Linked DNA regions of Homo sapiens: all the other regions are linked to region 7. The links are contacts of gene promoters, found by promoter capture Hi-C in blood cells and fetal thymus (Javierre and others, 2016). All regions are on one chromosome and are shown on one strand. The core of a region is centred on a gene start or on the middle of the fragment in contact, and the rest is flanking DNA. Distances in the headings are between cores, read along the strand shown.

Region 1 (2,700 bases), core at 168-2,667, 530 kb after region 7:
AGTAACTATCCTTTAAGTAGCTTCAAAGAGATTAAGTGAAATAATATATCTGGTGACTAATCAAGTGTTTAGTGCCTGCCTTCCCCTAGGGCACCCACCTGGTGCTCAGAAGGAGCAGTCATATCCTAATTTCAAAATATCTCCTCCCTGGACATCATTTCAACACAACTGACATGTTTTTTGGAGGCAAAGACATATGCACACTTTTTTGAGCACAGTGTGAAAAGACTTTAAGAAGAGAAAGGAGGAGGAATGAGAGGAGGTGGCACTAACCATAGCCTCATGGGATGCTTCCCTCTCCATTGGAACTCTGGGTGCTCTGGGGTCTGCCTAGGACAATAGGATTCGTGGTTCTTAATCAGGGCACCCCCCCATTCCCCTGCAGTGTCTGCAGACATTTTTGATTGTCACACATGGAGGGGTGGGGGTGCTATTGGCATCTGGTGGGTAGAGGCCAGGCATGCGGCTAAATATCCTGCAATGCACAGGACATCCCCGAAATACAGAAGGATCCAGCCCACCTACCAGCAGCACCACGGCCTGGAAAGGCTGCCCAAAGACCTTCAGTCTGCCCACCCTCCAGCGTGCAGTGAGCTGCCAGGGCGGCACCCTGTGGTTTCTGGAATTCCTAAGAAGGCCAGAGAAATCCCAGAACAAATGGTGATGTCGGGGATTTTTTTTTTTTTCAGATTTGGTGCGGCATGAAAGGATGAAAGACTCCGAAGGGCCCCAGAGGCCCCCGCTGTGTTTTTTATCTACATTGCTTTCCCAGAAGGTTCCTGAGAAGTCAGACGCTGTGCTTCGCTGCATAATATCTGGTAACCATCACTAGACTAGCTAATCACCCTCTAAAATCTCCCTGCATACCAGGTTTCTTGGCTCACAAAGGCATTACTAAAACATCATTTGGGAAAATTACCTTGGAAGTTTTTTTTTCTGTGTAATCAATGAAGCAACTCCATCCTCTATGATTTGTTTCTAAAAGATTTCTTTGAGTGACTTCCTGGACACGATTTAGTGATCTTTACTTCACCTTGTGGTTCTGGGTTAGGCAGCTCTCACACTGGTTATTTTTTTCAGATAATCCACTCTTAATTTTCTTTCTTTCTTGGGTGTCCTTAACCATAGTTTAAATTCATGGAGCACAGAGGAATGGCATGAATCACTTTTTTTCGGTAAATTGATGGAACTCTTCTGTTATTCTTTAATTGACTTTTTTTTTTTTTTTTGAGATGGAGTCTTTCTCTGTCACCCAGGCTGGAGTGCAGTGGTGTGATCTCGGCTCACTGCCACCCCCGCCTCCTGGGTTCAAACTATTCTCCTGCCTCAGCCTCCCGAGTAGCTGGGAATAGAGGCACGCACCACTGTACCTGGCTAATTTTTTTATTTTTATTTTTATTGTTTTTTTTTTTTTGAGACAGAGTCTTGCTCTGTTGCCAGGCTGGAGTGCAATGGCACGATCTCAGCTCACTGCAACCTCCGCCTCTTGGTTTCAAGCAATTCTCCCACCTCAGCCTCCCAAGTAGCTGAGATTACAGGCACCCGCCACTACACCCGGCTAATTTTTGTATTTTAGTAGAGATGGGGTTTCACCATGTTGGTCAGGCTGGTCTTGAACTCCTGACCTCAGGTGGTCTGCCTGCCTCGGCCTCCCAAAGTGCTGGGATTACAGGCGTGAGCCACTGCGGCTGGCTCGCCTGGCTAATTTTTATATTTTTAATAGGGACGGGGGGAGGGGGGTGGTTCACCATGTTGGCCAGGATGGTCTCCATCTCTTGACCTCATGATCTGCCTGCCTTGGTCTCCCAAAGTGCTGGAATTACAGGCGTGAGCCACCGCGCCTGGCCCTAATTGATATCTTAAAACTGGCTAAATTAGTCTCTCCTCTGCACGCCTTCTTCAGGGATGCTAATAAGAAGTGAAAATCTTAAAACAGAGGCAATGGGTGACCAGTGGAGAAAAAACAGGGGACTGGGATTCTGGATTGGTGAATAAATAACTCAGAATTGATCAAGTATGGGTACTCCCAATGGTAAAAGGATTTATCATTAAAAGAACATAAACATAAAACAATTGGGTAGGGAAGTGATATCTTGTACCTCATGGGTGGTTCTCTTTTCTTTTTTGGATTATGTCTCTACCCTTGAAAACATGAAGGTGCCAATGGTGTTTCTTGAGGGCAGACAGAAAACTCTTCTCCCCTTGCTCTTTTTTTTTTTTTTTTTTTTTTTGAGACAGGGTCTCTTGCTCTGTTGCCCAGGCTGGAGTGCAGTGGCACAATCTCAGCTCTCTGCAACCTCCACCTCCCAGGTTCAAGCAATTCTCATGCCTCAGCCTCCCAAGTGGCTGGGATTCCAGATGCACACCACCATGCCCAGCTCATTTTTGTATTTTTAGTAGAATGGGGTTTCGCTATGTCGGCCAGGTTGGTCTCTGATCCCATTTTTCTAAGTCCAGAGAGGAGAGGGGTGAGCCTCAGAAACGGCTGCCTTTCGCTAGCAGAAGTTGTCATAAAACCTCGATTTCAGCCTGGAGTTGCAGTGTAGAACTGTGCGCTCAGCCTCTCCAAGCCCAGGCTTCTGTCTCCGTGATGGTCCATCGTCATTCAGACAGACAGAACAGTGCAAGCTGACCTTGAGTCTTCAGAGCAGAGCCCTCGTGTGTTTGGACATGCCCTGAACTTGGCTGTGGTCCCCTCGC
Region 2 (2,910 bases), core at 362-2,861, 570 kb after region 7:
TGCTGTGCCACTTCTGCCAAATACCATTAACTGTCCTGGACCTGCAGTTTAATGTCCTGGCTTACTACAGTTATTATCCTCAGTCAGGGTTAAATAATCAATAAAGAGTCATTAGTGCCTGCAGTTGTGCAACTCTTGGTGTAGTCCGCGGACCAGCTGGTTAGAAATGCAGGCTCAGAAGCCCTGTTCCAGTCCTACTGAATCAGAATCTGCATTCTCAACCAGACTCGTAGGAGATTCATACACACACTGAAGTTCCAATAGCCCCAGTCCACAGAGTATAGGATCCTTCTCAGATTAGAAAAGACCCCAAAGCCAAGCCCTCAACCCTAGCTATGCATGGAATCACCTGGGAGCTTTAGAACATTCAGCTGCCTGGGTTTTGCCCTCAGACATTCTGATGTGATTTGGTCTGCAGTGTGGGCGTTGGAAGCTCTAAAAGCTCCCAGGTGATTCTCTATACTTCCAAGGTTGAGAGCCTTGGCTGAGCTACACAATCATATGGAAACTTTTTCTCCCCCCCAAGACTGGGTCTCTGTCACCCAGGTTGGAGTGCAGTGGCCTGGTTACTGCTTACTACAGCCTGGACCTCAGGTGATCCTCCCACCTCAGGCTCACGAGCAGCTGAGACTACAGGCACATGCCACTACACCTGGCTAATTTTTCTATTTTTAGTAGAGATGGGGTTTTGCCATGTTGCCCAGGATGGTCTCGAACTCCTGGCCCCAAGTGATTCTCTTGCCTTGGCCTCCCAAAGTGCTGGGATTACAGGTGTGAGCCACTGTGCCCAGCCTGTAACTTCTAAATAGACTTGTCTCTTGGTATCTGTAGGGGATTGGTTCCAGGACCCCCCTCAGATACCAAAATCTGAGGATGCTCATGTCTCTGATATAAAATGGCATAGTATTTGCAAATAACTTATATACATCCTCCTGTTCACTTCAAATCATCTCCAATTACTTATAACACCTAATACAATGTAAATGCTACGTGAATAGTTGTTATACTCTATTGCTGAGAGTAACAATTTTAAAAGTCTGTACACATTCAGTAAAGATGCAATTTTTCCCCAAATCTCTTGGGTCCATGATTGGTTGAATCCACAAATTTAAAACCCACGGATACAGAGGCTAACTGTATACAGACATACAAGCCCCACCCCGGAGGTCCTTATTTCAATAGATCGAGGGTAGAGCTCAGGCGTGCGTGCCTTATGGAAGCTCCAGCTGACCCTGGGTAACTGAGGCACAGCTGTGGTTGAGAGTCCTGGAGCCCATATGGAGCTAAATCCTGGGGGGTTCCAAGTTCCACCTCCCCTGAGTAGGGCTGCAGAGAGCTAAAGGCTATACAGCTTGTGATGTACTTTCTTGGGGATTCGGGAGTCCTTGCCCGTGATTTCCCACAATCTTAGCCAAGGAACACAGCATCAGGTTATTCAATAGCACTTTTCAAACAGAGGCAATGGGTATTCTTCACACATAAGGCGTTCCTGTCCTAGTGCCATATATGCATCCCAGAAACACCTCACATTCTGAAAAATCACACCCTTAAAGTGTAAGGGCTTTGGGGAAAATTAGCATCCCCAAGAGGTCACTTAGGAAACAGACCATTTTGAAACCAGAAACTAATAAAATCAAAACATGTGCCCGGGAAACTCACTTGGACTGCCCAGGGAGGTGGCCCAGGCTGGCAGGAGGCCACCATGGCAGATATTAAAAACACACAACAGAGTGGAGATGCTGGAGATCTTTCAGATGGAGCCAGCTTGAGGGTGCGGAGACCTCAAAGACAGAAGTGGGTCTCTGAGCCAGCAAAGCTGCTGTTAAAGTGGGTCTGGGGGCGCCACTCAACCTGCCCTTAGACACACGGGCTTGGAGTTTGCTTCTTAGGAGAGAGGACCACTGAGGGCAGGCTGCATTTGAAATTCTGTTAAAATACAACTTAATAGGGCCCCTGCTGCCAATGCAGAGGCTGAGTCAAAGGCTTGTTTTCCTGCTCAATTTTCTGTAATTTATTCCAGCTATTCTGGTTCCCTTTGCCAAAGAAAAACTGCGTATGAACCAATGCCACGTGTTGGTTATACTGACATCATTCTCTTGTAGACCGATCTCACAGAGCTAACTCATTACAGAAACATGTCCTGGCAAACAGCCTGCACTAAGGATTTGGATGTCTCGTGTTCAGGTGGTTCTACTCTGCTTGGAGTCCCCAGGGCAGTGTCTTAAAGTGAGGGCCTGGACTATTTGCATTGGAATCACCTGATGAGGTGCGTGTTTAAAAAAACAACATAGGTCCCTAAGTTTTACCACAGACTTGCTGAACCTGCATTTTTATTAATTTTGAGGCAGAGTCTTGCTCTGTCACCCAGGCTGGACTGCAGTGGCGCAATCTCGGCTCACTGCAACCTCCGCCTCCCAGGTTCAAGCGATTCTCTTGTCTCAGCCTTCCGAGTAGTTGGGACCTCAGGGGCCTGCCATCACGCCCGGCCTTTTTTTTTTTTAAGTAGAGACAGGGTTTCGTCATGTTGGCCACACTGGTCTCGAACTCCTGACCTCAGGTGATCTGCCTGCTTCGGCCTCCCAAAGTGCTGGGATTATAGACATGAGCCACCGTGAAAAAATATGCAGGCCTGAACCTGCATTTTTAATATGCTGTCTGAGAAATAAATGCAGGCCTGAACCTGCATTTTTAATATGCTGTCTGAGAAATAAATGCAGGCCTGAACCTGCATTTTTAATATGCGGTCTGAGGATTCTCTTGGGCATTAAAGTTTGGAAACCATGGGCTCAGTTAGATGGATCTAGAGAGAGAATACTACAACTTTTAGAGGCATTTCTGTAAAGACTCACAGGAGTTTGGAAACAACAAGAAATTTAGGCTCCTCAAGTGTAACCTCCTTTGCCCTAAGAG
Region 3 (2,700 bases), core at 70-2,569, 760 kb before region 7:
GAAGGCCATTGAGTTACACCTACTTTTGCACATGACTAACCTCAGATGAAGCAATCTTTGCTACTCTACGGCTGGAAGCAGAGGAAGAAGCGTGAGGTCACCAAAAAGGAAACTGCACTGCAGCTCCTCTTGCCAGACAGACCCAGGAGCAGTCAAGGATGCCAGCTCACAAAACACCTCTAATTAGATCATGAATCTGTATAGGCTGTAATCCCAGCACTTTGGGAGGCCGAGGCGGGCAGATGACTTGAGGCCAGGAGTTCAAGACCAGCCTGGCCAACATGGTGAAATCCCCGTCTCTACTAAAAACACAAAAATTACCCAGTGTGGTGGCGTGTGGGGGAGGCTTTAGCACGAGAATCACTTAGACCCAGGAGGCAGAGGTTGCAGTGAGCCAAAATTGTGCCAATGCACTCCAGCCTGGGCGACAGAGCAAGACTCTGTCTCAGAAAAAAAAAAAAAAAGGACCTATGTTGGGCATTCATTTCCTATTTTTCACTATTTCCCCTCCCAATTAAAGTGTAAGTCCCTTGAGAGCAGAAATCATGCAAACTCCCCTATATTTTCTACTCCAACTACTGGGAGGAGACAGTGTGGTCAGAAGGTCAGAGGATGTCTGCTGATGGAAATCAGTTAAAATACTTTGGCTTGATAATGAACACTTAGTAATTAGTAGCTTACAAGATGAAGACAAAATTAACACACAGAAAAGAACAGTGAAAACTTTTAATAGTTTACTGCCACAGTATCAACTTTTATATGTGTGCATATGTTTAAATACAAATTAGACCATAAATACCAGATGGTAAAATAGCTGCCTCTAGGCTGAAAAAAAAAACTCTCTACCACTAAATAAACAATCTTAAGTAATACTGAAGAAAACAGATGTGAGGTAATTTTCCATCTAAAGTGACTACAACCTACATTAAGACATTTTAACTAAAAATTCAAGTAGTTATAAGACTCTTGTAACTCAAAAATGTAACTTTAATACACATTTTCAAACTAAAGAAAAATACTTTAATTATAAATAGGCAAAATAAATAAAATTATTCCTGCTGAAATAAAATCAAGACATTATTTATTTGAGGACTGTATATAGCCCAGATAAAAAAAATGAAACTTACTTGAGACCCTACTAAGAAGCTATATAATACTCTAATACAAATTATCTATACAGATACCCATATAAGTATGTAAGTATGTGTATACATATATATTCACCAATGCATATATGGAACTTTCATTCTAGATGAGAACTAACTGTTCCTTTTTTTTAAGAAAAGTATATTCCAATTATGAAAATATTCTTAATTTACATTAAGAGATCACTTTTTGTAGGATGCACACTAATGTGACAAGGAGCATTTTCCGAACCTTTAGAAACTTCTTTAGAAACATTCATATCTTATCAAGTTACTTCTGAATATTTGTTCTACTAAGTTTCAAAAACATCAATTAAAAATTAACTTCTTTTTTCTTTTTATTATCCCTGGTTATACAAAATCCCCATGTTCTTTTATTATATTGAATGTTCAGTCTACTGATTTACTGGCCCCAAGTAACCCTCCTATACTTTATCCAATTTTTTCAAAGTTATTTTCCAGTTTTCCATAGTTTCTAGTAACGCCCAACAGGAACACATTGAATGAAAGATCATCTGAACAGAAGCAATACAATTTGAGTCAAAAGAAACAAATGATTTTACGTTGTGTAGTGACCGAAGAAATCAACACTGAGTATAACATTTCAGTGTTCTCAGAATGAGTTTTTTCATTATAACAAGGTAATATGTATAAACCGAATCATATACAATGTGCTGAGTTGGCACTGAAAAGCAAAACACCAAAAACAGCAACAACAACAATGCACTGAACTGTTTCTCCCCAGCCGCCCAGTCTAATCACAGGTCATCTCCCTTCACAGTAGGCCAGCGGTAATCTTCGGCAAAAACACTAGAACGATTCTCTAAGTAAAAAAGAAATGTGTCAATAATTACTTCTTTATTTTCAAGGGTCTTCCATTCTTGCTTTAAAATAAACAAAGTGGTTTTATAATGTTCTCTCATCCCAAAGAATGATAATCTGGGAAAACTTGAACAGAAATTCACTTTGATGTATTCCATCTTCCGTTTCCAAGGGCACCCATGAATGCACCTTCACATTCCTCTCAATTACAATGCAGTCTTTCTTCAAATTGATGAAACGTGCACCTCCTGAGAAAACTCTTTTGAAGGAGTCCCCTCATGCAAGTTTTTGATGCAGTCAGGTTCCTGAGCAGAAGAGTTTGGATATCAGATTCAGAAGTTTCTGCCGGAAGTTCAGTTTGTCTCCAAATCTCCTGAGTTGAGTAGCACACTCGACTTCCAGCTCTGAGAAGGAAAGCAAAACATGGACATGAACATTGATGATATTACAGACTGTAACCAGCAAAACCTAATACGCCCACACTAGTGACAAATTGAGTATCCCAGGAAGCATTTCTCTTAACTTTGGCTTTATGTGCACCTGTTTTCCAAATGTGACACACACACACACTTACACACATTGTGACTCACCGAAAGCAATCGTTAAGGTAAGAATAAAGACATTTACTTTGAGTTTTTAAAAAACGCATCCTGGATGAGGCAAGTGTTACCTTACTTTCAAATATGTCAAATACCACAAAGAGTAGCATTATCATTCTTTGGGATGTGAGAAC
Region 4 (2,794 bases), core at 119-2,618, 600 kb after region 7:
CAAATTCTGAGAGCAAGGCATCAGACGGTGGTCTCATAATTCCTGACAAGGTCTGGGCTGTACCTGATAGTCTAAAGGCAGATGCTGTTGTGCCTGAATTGGCCCCCTCTGAAATAGCAGCATTGGCTCACAGTCCAGAGGATGCTGAGTCAGCCCTTGCTGATAGCAGAGAAAGCCATAAAGGCGAAGAGCCCACCATCAGTGTACATTGGAGAAGTCTTTCTTCCCGGGGTTTCAGCCAACCCAGACTCCTGGAGTCATCCGTGGACCCTGTAGATGAAAAGGAGTTATCTGTCACAGATTCACTGTCAGCGGCTTCTGAAACTGGAGGGAAGGAAAATGTTAACAATGTGAGTCAAGACCAGGAGGAAAAACAACTCAAGATGGATCACACTGCCTTCTTTAAAAAGTTTCTGACCTGCCCTAAAATCCTAGAGTCCTCTGTAGATCCCATTGATGAGATAAGTGTGATAGAGTACACCAGGGCTGGAAAACCAGAGCCCTCTGAAACCACACCACAGGGCGCCAGAGAAGGGGGTCAATCAAATGACGGAAACATGGGCCACGAAGCGGAAATCCAGCCGGCCATTTTGCAAGTTCCATGTCTCCAGGGAACCATTCTGAGTGAAAATAGAATCAGCAGAAGCCAAGAAGGCAGTATGAAGCAGGAGGCTGAACAAATTCAACCTGAGGAGGCAAAAACTGCCATTTGGCAAGTCCTGCAACCCAGCGAAGGCGGTGAAAGAATTCCAAGTGGATGTAGCATAGGCCAAATACAAGAAAGCAGTGATGGGAGCTTAGGGGAGGCTGAGCAAAGCAAAAAGGACAAAGCAGAATTGATTTCCCCCACTTCACCTCTTTCTAGTTGTCTTCCAATAATGACTCACGCTTCTCTTGGGGTTGACACGCACAACTCCACAGGCCAAATTCATGACGTCCCTGAAAATGACATAGTTGAGCCCAGAAAGCGTCAGTATGTGTTTCCTGTTTCACAGAAAAGGGGAACTATTGAGAATGAGCGTGGGAAACCTTTGCCCTCTTCTCCTGATCTTACCAGGTTCCCTTGTACTTCATCTCCTGAAGGAAATGTCACAGACTTTTTGATAAGCCACAAAATGGAGGAACCTAAAATAGAGGTGCTTCAAATTGGGGAAACCAAACCCCCAAGCTCATCTAGCTCCTCAGCGAAGACCTTGGCATTTATTTCAGGAGAACGTGAGTTAGAGAAAGCCCCTAAATTACTGCAGGATCCATGTCAAAAGGGCACCCTGGGCTGTGCGAAAAAGTCCAGGGAGAGAGAGAAGTCCCTGGAAGCCCGAGCAGGCAAATCGCCAGGGACCCTCACAGCAGTGACGGGGTCAGAGGAGGTCAAGAGGAAGCCAGAAGCCCCAGGCAGTGGACATTTAGCTGAGGGAGTAAAGAAGAAAATTTTGTCCAGGGTGGCAGCACTGAGGCTGAAACTGGAAGAAAAGGAAAATATCAGAAAGAACTCAGCCTTTCTTAAAAAGATGCCCAAACTCGAAACATCATTATCACACACAGAAGAGAAACAAGACCCAAAAAAGCCATCTTGCAAAAGAGAAGGAAGAGGTGAGGTTCTGTTGCTGTCCATCATTGTTAAAGTTTGGGCTTGTAGACCAGGTATCCAGTTCCTGTGTCCTCGAGGGTCCTTTGCAATTAAGGCCAGTGTCCCCCAGGTGGGCATTGATGCTATGGTTGTGGCCAAGTGGCTTCAGCATGTGGCATCAGAATCACCTGGAGGACTTGTTAAAACCCAGATTGCTCCCCTCCCCCAGTGTGTGAAATTTGCACTTCTAACAAGTTCCCAGGTGATCTATCGGGAGAACCACGATTGAGAACCACTGATAAAGGCCGCCTGTAGGCATGTCTGTTGGAGGGGAATGTGATGAAGGTGCTTTTCCGTTTCATTATCCTCTTTTACAAAATCTATTTAAAAATATAAACAGAAGCATTAATCAGTGTAGCTAATTAGTATAATGAAATAGACCATGCACTAAGCAGGATTTGTGGAAATGAATATTTTGGTACAAATTGGGATTCTCCTCTTTAATCACTGATTTTTCATTAAAAATAACTTCCTTGAACCTTGGTTTTTTCTTCCAAATTTGAGTGTAACATTTCTTTTCAACTCACCCTTCCCATTTATCTAAATCTAAAATCCTCTGAGGTCTCTGTTCTAGGTTTCAGACCACTCAAGCCTCAAAAGTCCTTGATCAACCTCTACCTATGATGCTGTTAAAAAAAAAAAAAAAGTCCTGAAATTGCAGTTAATTCTACTTTGTCTGAGGAATCATTTCAGTCCCAAATTCCATTTATAGACCAAATTTTAGCCTGTTTTATTTCAGAGCTCTTCTTTCTCTCCCCACACACCCTGGTAGAAGTCAGAAGAGAAAATATTGCAGCAAGCTACAGTGGCCTGTGTGCTCTGGAGCGAAAAGCTACGGATGGCTGATCAGAAGGGAAGAATTTTCTCCTCTCTTAACCTGAGTCCTTAGATTTTGAGGCTGGCGTTTGTTATTCCCATCCCATCAAATGGGTCCTAACCCCTGTTGCAGAAAGGTTTAAAGACAAAACTGCCTTCTGAAGAGTTTGGAAGTATCCAATCAGGTTATTAGTATCTATATTTTAAAGCATATTTAAAGAGAATGGCTCGGCATTGTGGCTCACACCTGTAATCCCAGCAATTTGGGAGGCCGAGGTAGGAGGATTGCTTAAGCCCAGGAGTTTGAGACCAGCCTGAGCAACATGGCGAAACCCCATCTCTACGAAAAAT
Region 5 (2,807 bases), core at 234-2,733, 620 kb after region 7:
CTCAAATCGTATGATTTTAAATATTTTGAAAAGAAGAGAAAAATATTTCCTGAAGCATGTATATAGAAATGTGAAGTAAGATTTTTCACACAACCCATGATCTCTTTCTTCTTGTAAACATTCAGAAAGATGTCAGTTTTCATCAGTTTTGAGAAGTGGAAAGGATTTAAAAATCCAAACAATCTTATTTCATTGAAAGCCACCTAATTTTCTTCTCTCAGTGAATGAGAAGTCTGATTGGGTCATCTCTAGTTTAAAGTGGACCTTCCTGATTAAATTCACTGTCATCTCAAACATGTGTAGAATCCACTCTGCAAAAAAAAACAGCTGTTAGAAAACTTAAAATAATTCTACTTTTCTTTTTACAAATAAATGCAAAATAATTCTACCTTTTTTTCGATTTCTCTTCAAAGGCAATTCTTTTTATTATTTTTTTGTTTTGTTTATTGCTACCTGTTTCCTATACTTATCACATGCTTTCTCAATGGAGGCAGTATTGCTACCAAGAGGACCAACATTGGTTCTTGGGAGGCAAAAAAAAAGTTACTCTTTTTCTGTATAAAGAACAAATATACATATGGTACATAAACAGATAGTATATTTGTGGTATTAAACTTTCATGGCAGGCAATTAAAACAAATTCCAGCAAAGATTCCGTGGTTGCGGGGGGTGGGGGGCAATAATGAAAGAAAGGTTGGTCCGATATTATCAGATCTTATCATTGGTCTTTCTTCCCTCCTCTACACTTTTCCCATCTTTTCAACTTGACTTTTGTTACTTTGCTTGGTTCCACTTATATTTTCCAGATCTGTCTAGAATTCTTTTCCTGATCTTTCCAGTTTTGCTCCAACCCATCCCTGATGTTCCCACATTCTCATTCAATGACCTGTCTCCTCCTCACCAAACCACTCATCTCTTCTTTTAGCTATGCCTCTTTTGAAGGGTTAAGTGTGTCTGCCCCCTCTTGGTTCTGCAGGTCAGCCTTGTCATTGTCCTTATGTGGGGACCCTCCCCATGTGGAGTTAGCCAAGGAGCAGGACTGGGAGGTATTCTTTCCAACCAAAGCTGTGCTGTGTTTCAGGATGTGAAGAGATTGAATTCAGCCAACTCATCTTCAAAGAAGACTTCCTCCATGACAGCTACTTTGGGGGCCGCCTGCGTGGTCAGATCGCCACGGAGGAGCTGCACTTTGGAGAAGGGGTTCACCGCAAAGCCTTCCGCAGCACAGTGATGCACGGCCTCATGCCTGTCTTCAAACCTGGCCATGCCTGTGTGCTTAAGGTGCACAATGCCATTGCCTATGGGACCAGAAATAATGATGAGCTCATCCAAAGGAACTACAAACTCGCTGCCCAGGTGGGTCCATCTGCCCAAAGGCTGTCACTTCTGGTGTGAGAACCACCCATGATAAGACGAGATGAAAATCAGACTCAGGATTGATGGGAATATCTTCAAAAGGGTGTTTTTCCTCTTTTGGGGTTTCAATTCAATCTCAATGCTGGGGATCACTTCTCAATTCTCGGGAGTAATTTCTTGGCCTTATGCCAGCTACTGGGGACTCAGCCAATGCCTAGAGACACCTCACCAGTTCTAACCCGAGATATAATTGATTTTGTTTCTAAGAAGCCCTATGACATCCCTGGCGGTTTGAGTCTACTTGGACCTAGGATGATATGGAAAGTGGGGGTTCTAAGCTACACTAGATGCCAGGGTCTCCAGGAACAGATAACATCAGCACTAGTTGCTGGAGTGTTTTGTTTGGTTTTGTTTTGTGGAGAGGGAGAGGGGTGGGGTATACCCAGAAGGGTCAGCATTGGTCTTGTTTTCTGCCTTCCTGAGTTTGGTTTAATGGTAGTGTATAAAATATAGGAAGAGAGACAGACCCAAGTCTCTAGCTGAGTTCCCACTTCTCTGTGTTATTGAGTCATAGAACTCGAGGTGAGAGGATAGGGCAGGAGAGCCTTAGCTTCTCTCGCTCCTTCCTCCTCCTATCCACATATTTGGTCCATATATTTCACTCCGTCTTTTTTTTTTTTTCTTTTTTGAGACAGTGTCTCACTCTTTCCCCCAGGCTGGAGTACAGTGGCATGATCACGGCTCCACAGCAGTCTCGGCCTCCTGGCCTTAAGCAACCCTCCTGCCTCAGCCTCCCAAGTAGCTAGGACTACAGGCGCATGCCATCACGCCCAACTAATTTTTATTTTTTTTTTCAGAGACAGGGTCTCCCTATGTTGCCCAGGCTGGTCTTGACCTCCTGGAGGGTTCCAAGTGATCCTCCTGCCTCTGCCTCCCAAAGTGCTGGGATTACAGGCATGAATCACCACACCTGGTCCACATATTTCACTGTTTACACCGGCACTGGTGTAGCTGTCAAGAAAGTTGGGTCTTTCACCAGCTCTGTGCCCCTTTAAAATGTTTACCATAAACATCTAAAACAATTAAAACATTTAAAATATTAAAATCCATAGGTTAAACTTAGATGAATCTCTCAGGTACAGTCAAGCATTAAGCATCGTGATCCTGCGGCACTGCCACGTGGGACTTTGTGCTTCTGAAGGCAGCCTTGCTCTCTGAATATAGTGTTCTGCCCATTGTATTCCTTTCTTCTCCCAATCCACTCTGCTTTTTTCTTTTCTCTCTCAGTATTCCCTCCATCTCAAATATGACACAGTCTTGGAAAACCTCCCAGCATCTGGATTCTTGCTCAGAAAAGCCCCACAGCATAGGATGCAGAATCCACTTAGCTTTTCCTAAGGCAGAAATCCTGTGCTGTTCATTATTGACTACTCCAATTACACCTTTGAAAA
Region 6 (2,700 bases), core at 1-2,500, 640 kb after region 7:
TTCCAGAGCCGAGAGGGCTTGGGTTGTCTGCTCACATGAGACTTGATTCCCCCTAACTGCCACCTTCCCCATGGTCCCTGCCTAAAGCTGGATGCGTATATGAAAGAGGCCTCGAGTGTTTATGCAGGAAGGAGAAGGAGGATGAGCTGTCATTACCCCTTCCCTGGGGCTAGATGGCCCAACTTCCTGAGGGGCCCTGAGTAACACAAACTCCCATCTTTGCTTTCTCTTCCTGTAGGTGTAGGAATGAAGCTAACTGACGTTGGCATAGCAACGCTGGCTAAAGGGTGAGTAGGAAAAAATGGAGTGTGCATCAATTAACACTGGGCTTACAGACACCTTCCAGGCAGACACTGTCAGGCTGAGGTGGGCAAAGTGAATTTCTTGTCCTAACTGTGGATGACGAATGTTCTTGGAATGAATTCATTTCTCTCACTTACATAAAATATTTATGGACTTTGTTCTCACAGGGGAGCACATTTGTTTCTTAACTTTGAAACAAATGAGAACTCTTGCAAACACATTTCAAGATTAATAACCAATAGGAGTACCACGGGGAGAAAATGCTGGCATTACTTGGATGCCTTTTAACTGGGAATATTCCGTTCTTTTACATTTAATATCTTCACTATTAAAAGCTTCTTTGAAAAAAAATTTTTTTTGCAATTGAATGCAGTGAATTCAATTTGTATATTTTAAATTAATTTTTCTCCAAAAAGTATTTTAGGCAGCTCACAGACCCCCATGATGATAATCATAGGAGGCAATGTCTCTGGCAGAGCTGTGATTAGTTACCTGTTTTTGATGATGGCTTTATTTTTCTAATACAGAGTGGTGCTTTGCTTAGTGTGAGGCACACACAGATGATGCTATGATCACATTTTACTGGGGCATCTTTTTAACAAGCTGCCCCTTCCCACTTCTTTACTTGACTGCCACTGAGGAGAAAGCCAGCCATTTGTTGTTCTTGGTGAAGATGCAATTCTGTGTTGGAACCACCATCGCCTTTGCCCACTCCTGCTCTTCCTACGTACTAAGACCATCTGTAAGGGGGAGGAAAAGAGAGCTCATGACTTTTGGAGGGGATGGCTTCTATTTCAAAATGTAGGTTTTATTAGTATGAGGTATCGTAAGGTCAACAGATCAGGAGATAGTTGCCATTGAAAAGCTAGTTTGTTACTTGCAGCTGCCAAGAGGGGGCACCAGGCCACCAGGGGCCATCTAAGAAGCAGCAGGGCCAGTTGGGAGGCAGAGGAAGTGAGGGGAAAATGCAGGCAAGAATATTATGGTTTATTCGGGAAGGAATAGGTGAGGGAGGATAAACAGTCCTAGGATTGGCTAATTTGACATTTTCCAGCAGTCTCTGGGACATAGGGCTGGCCCTAGTGTCTGGTACCTGCACTGGGGTGATTAGGGCAGGTGGACAGTGGCCCCAGTATGAGAGACCACAGAGGGGGTATTAGGGGTGTGGCTCTGGATTGGTTGGTTTGCATATATATGAAAGGCTCTCTGGAAGGTGATCATTTACTCTCTCTAGGAATATGGCAGCCCTGAGAGGAGTAAAGTCTCTCCAGGGCCAGTAAGGCACAAGATGTCAAAGCATCAGAAACACAGAAAATAAAGTGGTGGGATGAATCCAGCTTCCTTTCCCAAGGCTGAGAACAACTTATCCGTGGGAGCTTTCTGGTTACTTCAGACCATCAGTGTCAGCCACGATCCAACAAATATGCTAATTTTCAGCTTCAATAAAGGACAGAGAGAAGTAGAGGAATCTGAAAAAGTAGGAAGGGGATCGCTCTTTCTTTTAACCTCCAGGTCAGTAAGTCTGATTCATGAAGTTCTCGCCGATTGCACAAAGCTTCCAGTTGGGTTTTAGAACCAGAATGCGGTTTGGACCTTTTCCCTGGGATGGCTCAGTGATGATGAAGTTTTATGTTGGAACTGTCTCCAGGCTTCTCCCCTGTGCTCACCAGAGACCTGGCTGGCATACACTTCAGGGAATTGGGTATGTTCTTGGGCTTGTGAAGACAGCGCATTAGGAGGGATTATGATGTAGTGGGGAGGAAGGAACGAGGGATTTAGAGCGAGACCCAGTTCATACCCTGATGCTGCTGCTTCCATTTCTCCTGATAGTAGCCTCGCTTCTTGGCATCGTAGGAATTTGCCTAGCCTACCTGATGAGGGGGATGAACGTCTATTGCAGTTTCCCCATGATGGTACCATTTTATGCCTGATGTCCTCACATCCCATACGCTTTAGCATTGATCCTGAACAAGTGTACCCATTTAGAAGATAAATTATATGGTGCCCTATTTATGGAGGCTTCTGGACCCCAGAAGGATTTTCCAAACGGAGCCTTCCTTTCCAGGCTCCATGTGTTCTGCAGAACCTTGCAGATGCAAGCATCCGCCAGCCCTAGTTTGAATCCTGGCTTCTCGTCATACCAGCTGTGTGACTGTGGGCATGTGACTAAGTTCTTAAAGTCAGTGATGTACAGCATGGGGACACTCCGGCTTGCCCTGAGTATTCCCCCAGTTAATCTACACCTAGCCCCTGAAACTGGAAGTGAGCTAGATAAATATTAGTTTCCCTTCGCTCCTCATGTCTTAGCCTGACACCAGAGTAGGCAAATTTCGTGCTGTTATTTAGAACAACTCTCTACCAAAACAAAGAAGAAACCTGCCCAAGAAGTTTCAAAAA
Region 7 (2,700 bases), core at 82-2,581:
ATCAAACTTTCCCACACTACTGCACTAGTCTGAAATTCTACTTGGGGAAGGGGGAGGAGAGTGAGAGGGGAAAAACACGTATGCCTAAAGGAGTAAGCTGTGACCTCCCATGGGCACCACCCCACATCTCAACATGATGGAGCAAATGAAACTGGATGCCATCAAAATAATGAGGATTAATACCATTTTCAAAGACAATCAAAACTCCCTGGTTGGAAGGTCCCATTTTTCTTAGCACAATTTATTAGTAGCAATAGTGGCATTAGTATCCACCGTGATATTCAGGTCCTACAGGTCCCCCAAATTCTCTACCTAGAAGCCTACATAGTCGTATTTTTCCTGACTGAGAGGGCTTCCTTTCCAATCCCTACTCACTCTTAACCTTATAGTGAAGAGATAAGGCCCCAAAGACAGTGATGATGGCCAATAAGTGGCTAAAAAGAGAGCAAGAGGAACGTTTTCCTCTGAGGTCCTCTCACAAAGGAGAGGGAATTCAACCACCCCAGCTGCCCAAAGACCCTACACTGCCTCCTATATTCAGAGTGCAGCCATCTCAGAAGTTAGAGAAGGCTTCTGGAATCTCGCTGGGAACACTGGTTGAGTCCACAATGATTGCGCACAGCTTGTGAGCTCTCTAGGCACAAGGAGCATTATTTAGTCCCGACCCACGGTCAGGGGAAAAACAACTGCCCAGGCTGGGAAGAAACTGCTTTGGGAGGCATCGCTGGACAGCTCCCGTTGTAGGAAAGTTCTTCCCTCTCGCCTGCCTTTCTGCCTCTTCCACCTGCCGGCAGTCAGGCCTCTGAAGCCCCACAGAGAAATCGGTTCCCTCTTCACCGGGTGGCCCTTCAAATACGCTCAGAGAGCTGTCGTTCACCGAGTCATCTCTCCCACAAGCGTGGCTGTGGCATTCTCAACCACATTTGACATTCCATGGCACGGGGTTTCTATTCTCCCCTTTCCTGCACCCTCCCCTAATTGTGCTCTTGTCAGGGCAAGGAAGTGCACACCCATGCCCACACGTAGGCGTAGAACCCAGGGCCTGAGAGCCCAGCGCGGGAGCTTCGGGTGGCCGCCCGGCCGCATTCACTGGGAGCCGGAGCCCTGACTGGGAAGCCCCGACTCCCCGCTAGCACAGGCGGTCCCGGCCACGGCGCGCTCACCACCCTCCTCCGTCACCTGGCGCTTGTTCATCTTCTTCAGGTCCCCGAAGATATCCAAGCCGGACGCGGGGAGATGAGCCCCCACGGCGCCCGCACGCACCATAGCAGGGTCTCCGGGGACCTAGCGGCCCGCCGGCTCTGGGTGGCACAGACGGCTGCGGAGCACCTGCCGGCCCCCGCCCACCGGCCCAGCGTCCTTGCGGCCACGTGACCGGCGACTCGCTTGGGCGTCTGGGAATCGTAGTCTCGCCAGTCTTGGGCACTGGCCAGCCAGGAATGAACCTGAAGGAAGAAAACTACCACTCCCAGAATGCTGCGGGGTGGGCACCTCGGCCAGTGAAGACCCGGGGCTCCTAGGGAGGGCAGCTACAGGGCTCCGGAGCCTTGTCCGACCCTTCGGAGGGAACATCGAGCAGCGAGTGACCCCGCATACCTCGGGGGGCAACTCGGGGAAGGGACTACTCAAGAGGAGCTGAATTTCCCGACTCTGGTCAGGCGCCAAGAGGACACCTAACTCCCGCTCGCAAATCACCTAGCCGTGTATCTTGGCTATTGGATGACTGCAGCGAGGAAAGGTGGTGCCTCTACGCTGGGGCGGGCTGAGCCGAATTGGGGCGGGGCCTAAAGATGGACTGCGGTGGGCGGGGCTTGGAAGAGGCGGGACTTTTGAGGCCGCTGAATTCTGCATTTTGAGTGGTACCACTTGTATGCAAGGAAGTATCTTTGAATGCCTTGACCATAATTGGGTTGCAATAGATATTAATTAAATGAATACATAACCACCTAATTTCATACACGAGAAAGCAAAGGCCCAGAAAGGTTCATTGACATGGCCAAGGTTAAGTGGAAATGAGTGGAATATAACTCAAAGTTTTAAATTTAGAAGTCCTAGATCATCACAGTTCTGATCCTAGATTACCTTTGGTTCATTCACTCACTCGTGTATGCATTATGCATTCTTTATTGTATTTATTTATCCACAAATCTTTATGGAGCACCTACCATGCACCTGGCCTTGTTCTAGGCACTTGAGAAACATCAGTTAACAAAACAAGCAAAGATTCTTGCCCTCATGAAGCTTATATTCTACCGAAGGCAGACATAATGGATAATTTATACGGTACCTAAAGGATGGAGGTGCTATGACAACAGGAAAAGCAGATAAGTTGAATGGGGAGGTCTGGGGGAAAGGATCAGGTTGCAATTTAAAATATACCAGAAGCTGACTTACCATGAAGCTAATGAAAGGTAAGTTCTGGGACCCTTCAATTGCAAAGGTGTTTTTCCAAGGTGTGGGAGAAACTTAACCATAGAATGTGTAAAACTTTCAAAAGCAAGATATTGCAATTGCTATTGGTTAAGAGTTCTGTTTCTTTGCATTCCAACTTCACCTCCATTACATTTCCCCTCCTGTTGGAGGGACAAGGAGAATTTTGGGGATCCAGCTAAGGAGGAAACGAGTTGGAGATACATTTGGTTTGAGTTTAGTGAATTTATTTATGTGGTTCATGGTCTTTCCTGCCATCCTCGTGTAAAA

What was found. The method cuts DNA at HindIII sites, captures the fragments that hold promoters and counts their contacts. A CHiCAGO score of 5 or more calls a contact.
Region 1: a fragment that was not itself captured here is called in contact with the fragment with the promoter of SEC11C in region 7 in 1 of 17 cell types (naive CD8 T cells); the score reaches 6.9 in naive CD8 T cells.
Region 2: a contact is called between a fragment that was not itself captured here and the fragment with the promoter of SEC11C in region 7, in 1 of 17 cell types (monocytes). The highest score is 5.6, in monocytes.
Region 3: a contact is called between a fragment that was not itself captured here and the fragment with the promoter of SEC11C in region 7, in 2 of 17 cell types (non-activated CD4 T cells and total CD8 T cells). The highest score is 7.9, in non-activated CD4 T cells.
Region 4: a fragment that was not itself captured here is called in contact with the fragment with the promoter of SEC11C in region 7 in 1 of 17 cell types (naive CD4 T cells); the score reaches 5.6 in naive CD4 T cells.
Region 5: a fragment that was not itself captured here is called in contact with the fragment with the promoter of SEC11C in region 7 in 1 of 17 cell types (activated CD4 T cells); the score reaches 6.4 in activated CD4 T cells.
Region 6: a fragment that was not itself captured here is called in contact with the fragment with the promoter of SEC11C in region 7 in 5 of 17 cell types (naive CD4 T cells, naive CD8 T cells, total CD4 T cells and 2 more); the score reaches 7.7 in naive CD4 T cells.

Annotation. Positions count from the first base shown.
Region 1 is chr18:58,609,807-58,612,506 of GRCh38, reverse strand. ALPK2 (alpha kinase 2) reads left to right here. Exons shown (of 13, transcript NM_052947.4): 2 at 690-818. The coding sequence starts at 710. Among named protein-coding and RNA genes, the nearest start is that of SNORA108, 11 kb to the right of the region's middle. RefSeq lists an enhancer at 162-1,032. The HindIII fragment of the contact is 8,099 bases long and covers 1-2,700 here.
Region 2 is chr18:58,566,815-58,569,724 of GRCh38, reverse strand. The region is part of intron 4 of ALPK2 (alpha kinase 2); the gene reads left to right. Among named protein-coding and RNA genes, the nearest start is that of ALPK2-AS1, 11 kb to the right of the region's middle. The HindIII fragment of the contact is 5,735 bases long and covers 1-2,910 here.
Region 3 is chr18:59,902,318-59,905,017 of GRCh38, reverse strand. PMAIP1 (phorbol-12-myristate-13-acetate-induced protein 1) reads right to left here. Exons shown (of 2, transcript NM_021127.3): 2 at 713-2,371. The coding sequence ends at 2,265. Among named protein-coding and RNA genes, the nearest start is that of PMAIP1, 3.7 kb to the right of the region's middle. RefSeq lists an enhancer at 23-192. The HindIII fragment of the contact is 5,229 bases long and covers 1-2,700 here.
Region 4 is chr18:58,533,630-58,536,423 of GRCh38, reverse strand. It overlaps ALPK2 (alpha kinase 2), which reads left to right. Exons shown (of 13, transcript NM_052947.4): 5 at 1-1,590. Among named protein-coding and RNA genes, the nearest start is that of ALPK2-AS1, 22 kb to the left of the region's middle. RefSeq lists enhancers at 485-684, 745-964, 1-1,082, 1,075-1,124, 1,225-1,624. The HindIII fragment of the contact is 8,331 bases long and covers 1-2,794 here.
Region 5 is chr18:58,515,457-58,518,263 of GRCh38, reverse strand. ALPK2 (alpha kinase 2) reads left to right here. Exons shown (of 13, transcript NM_052947.4): 9 at 1,082-1,356. Among named protein-coding and RNA genes, the nearest start is that of ALPK2-AS1, 40 kb to the left of the region's middle. The HindIII fragment of the contact is 5,380 bases long and covers 1-2,807 here.
Region 6 is chr18:58,495,636-58,498,335 of GRCh38, reverse strand. It overlaps ALPK2 (alpha kinase 2), which reads left to right. Exons shown (of 13, transcript NM_052947.4): 12 at 239-287. Among named protein-coding and RNA genes, the nearest start is that of MIR3591, 46 kb to the right of the region's middle. The HindIII fragment of the contact is 1,220 bases long and covers 641-1,860 here.
Region 7 is chr18:59,138,515-59,141,214 of GRCh38, reverse strand. It overlaps SEC11C (SEC11 homolog C, signal peptidase complex subunit), which reads right to left and starts at 1,331. Exons shown (of 6, transcript NM_033280.4): 1 at 1,180-1,331. The coding sequence starts at 1,266. RefSeq lists silencers at 1,292-1,431, 1,852-1,901 and enhancers at 1,472-1,571, 1,652-1,741. The HindIII fragment of the contact is 2,684 bases long and covers 1-2,243 here.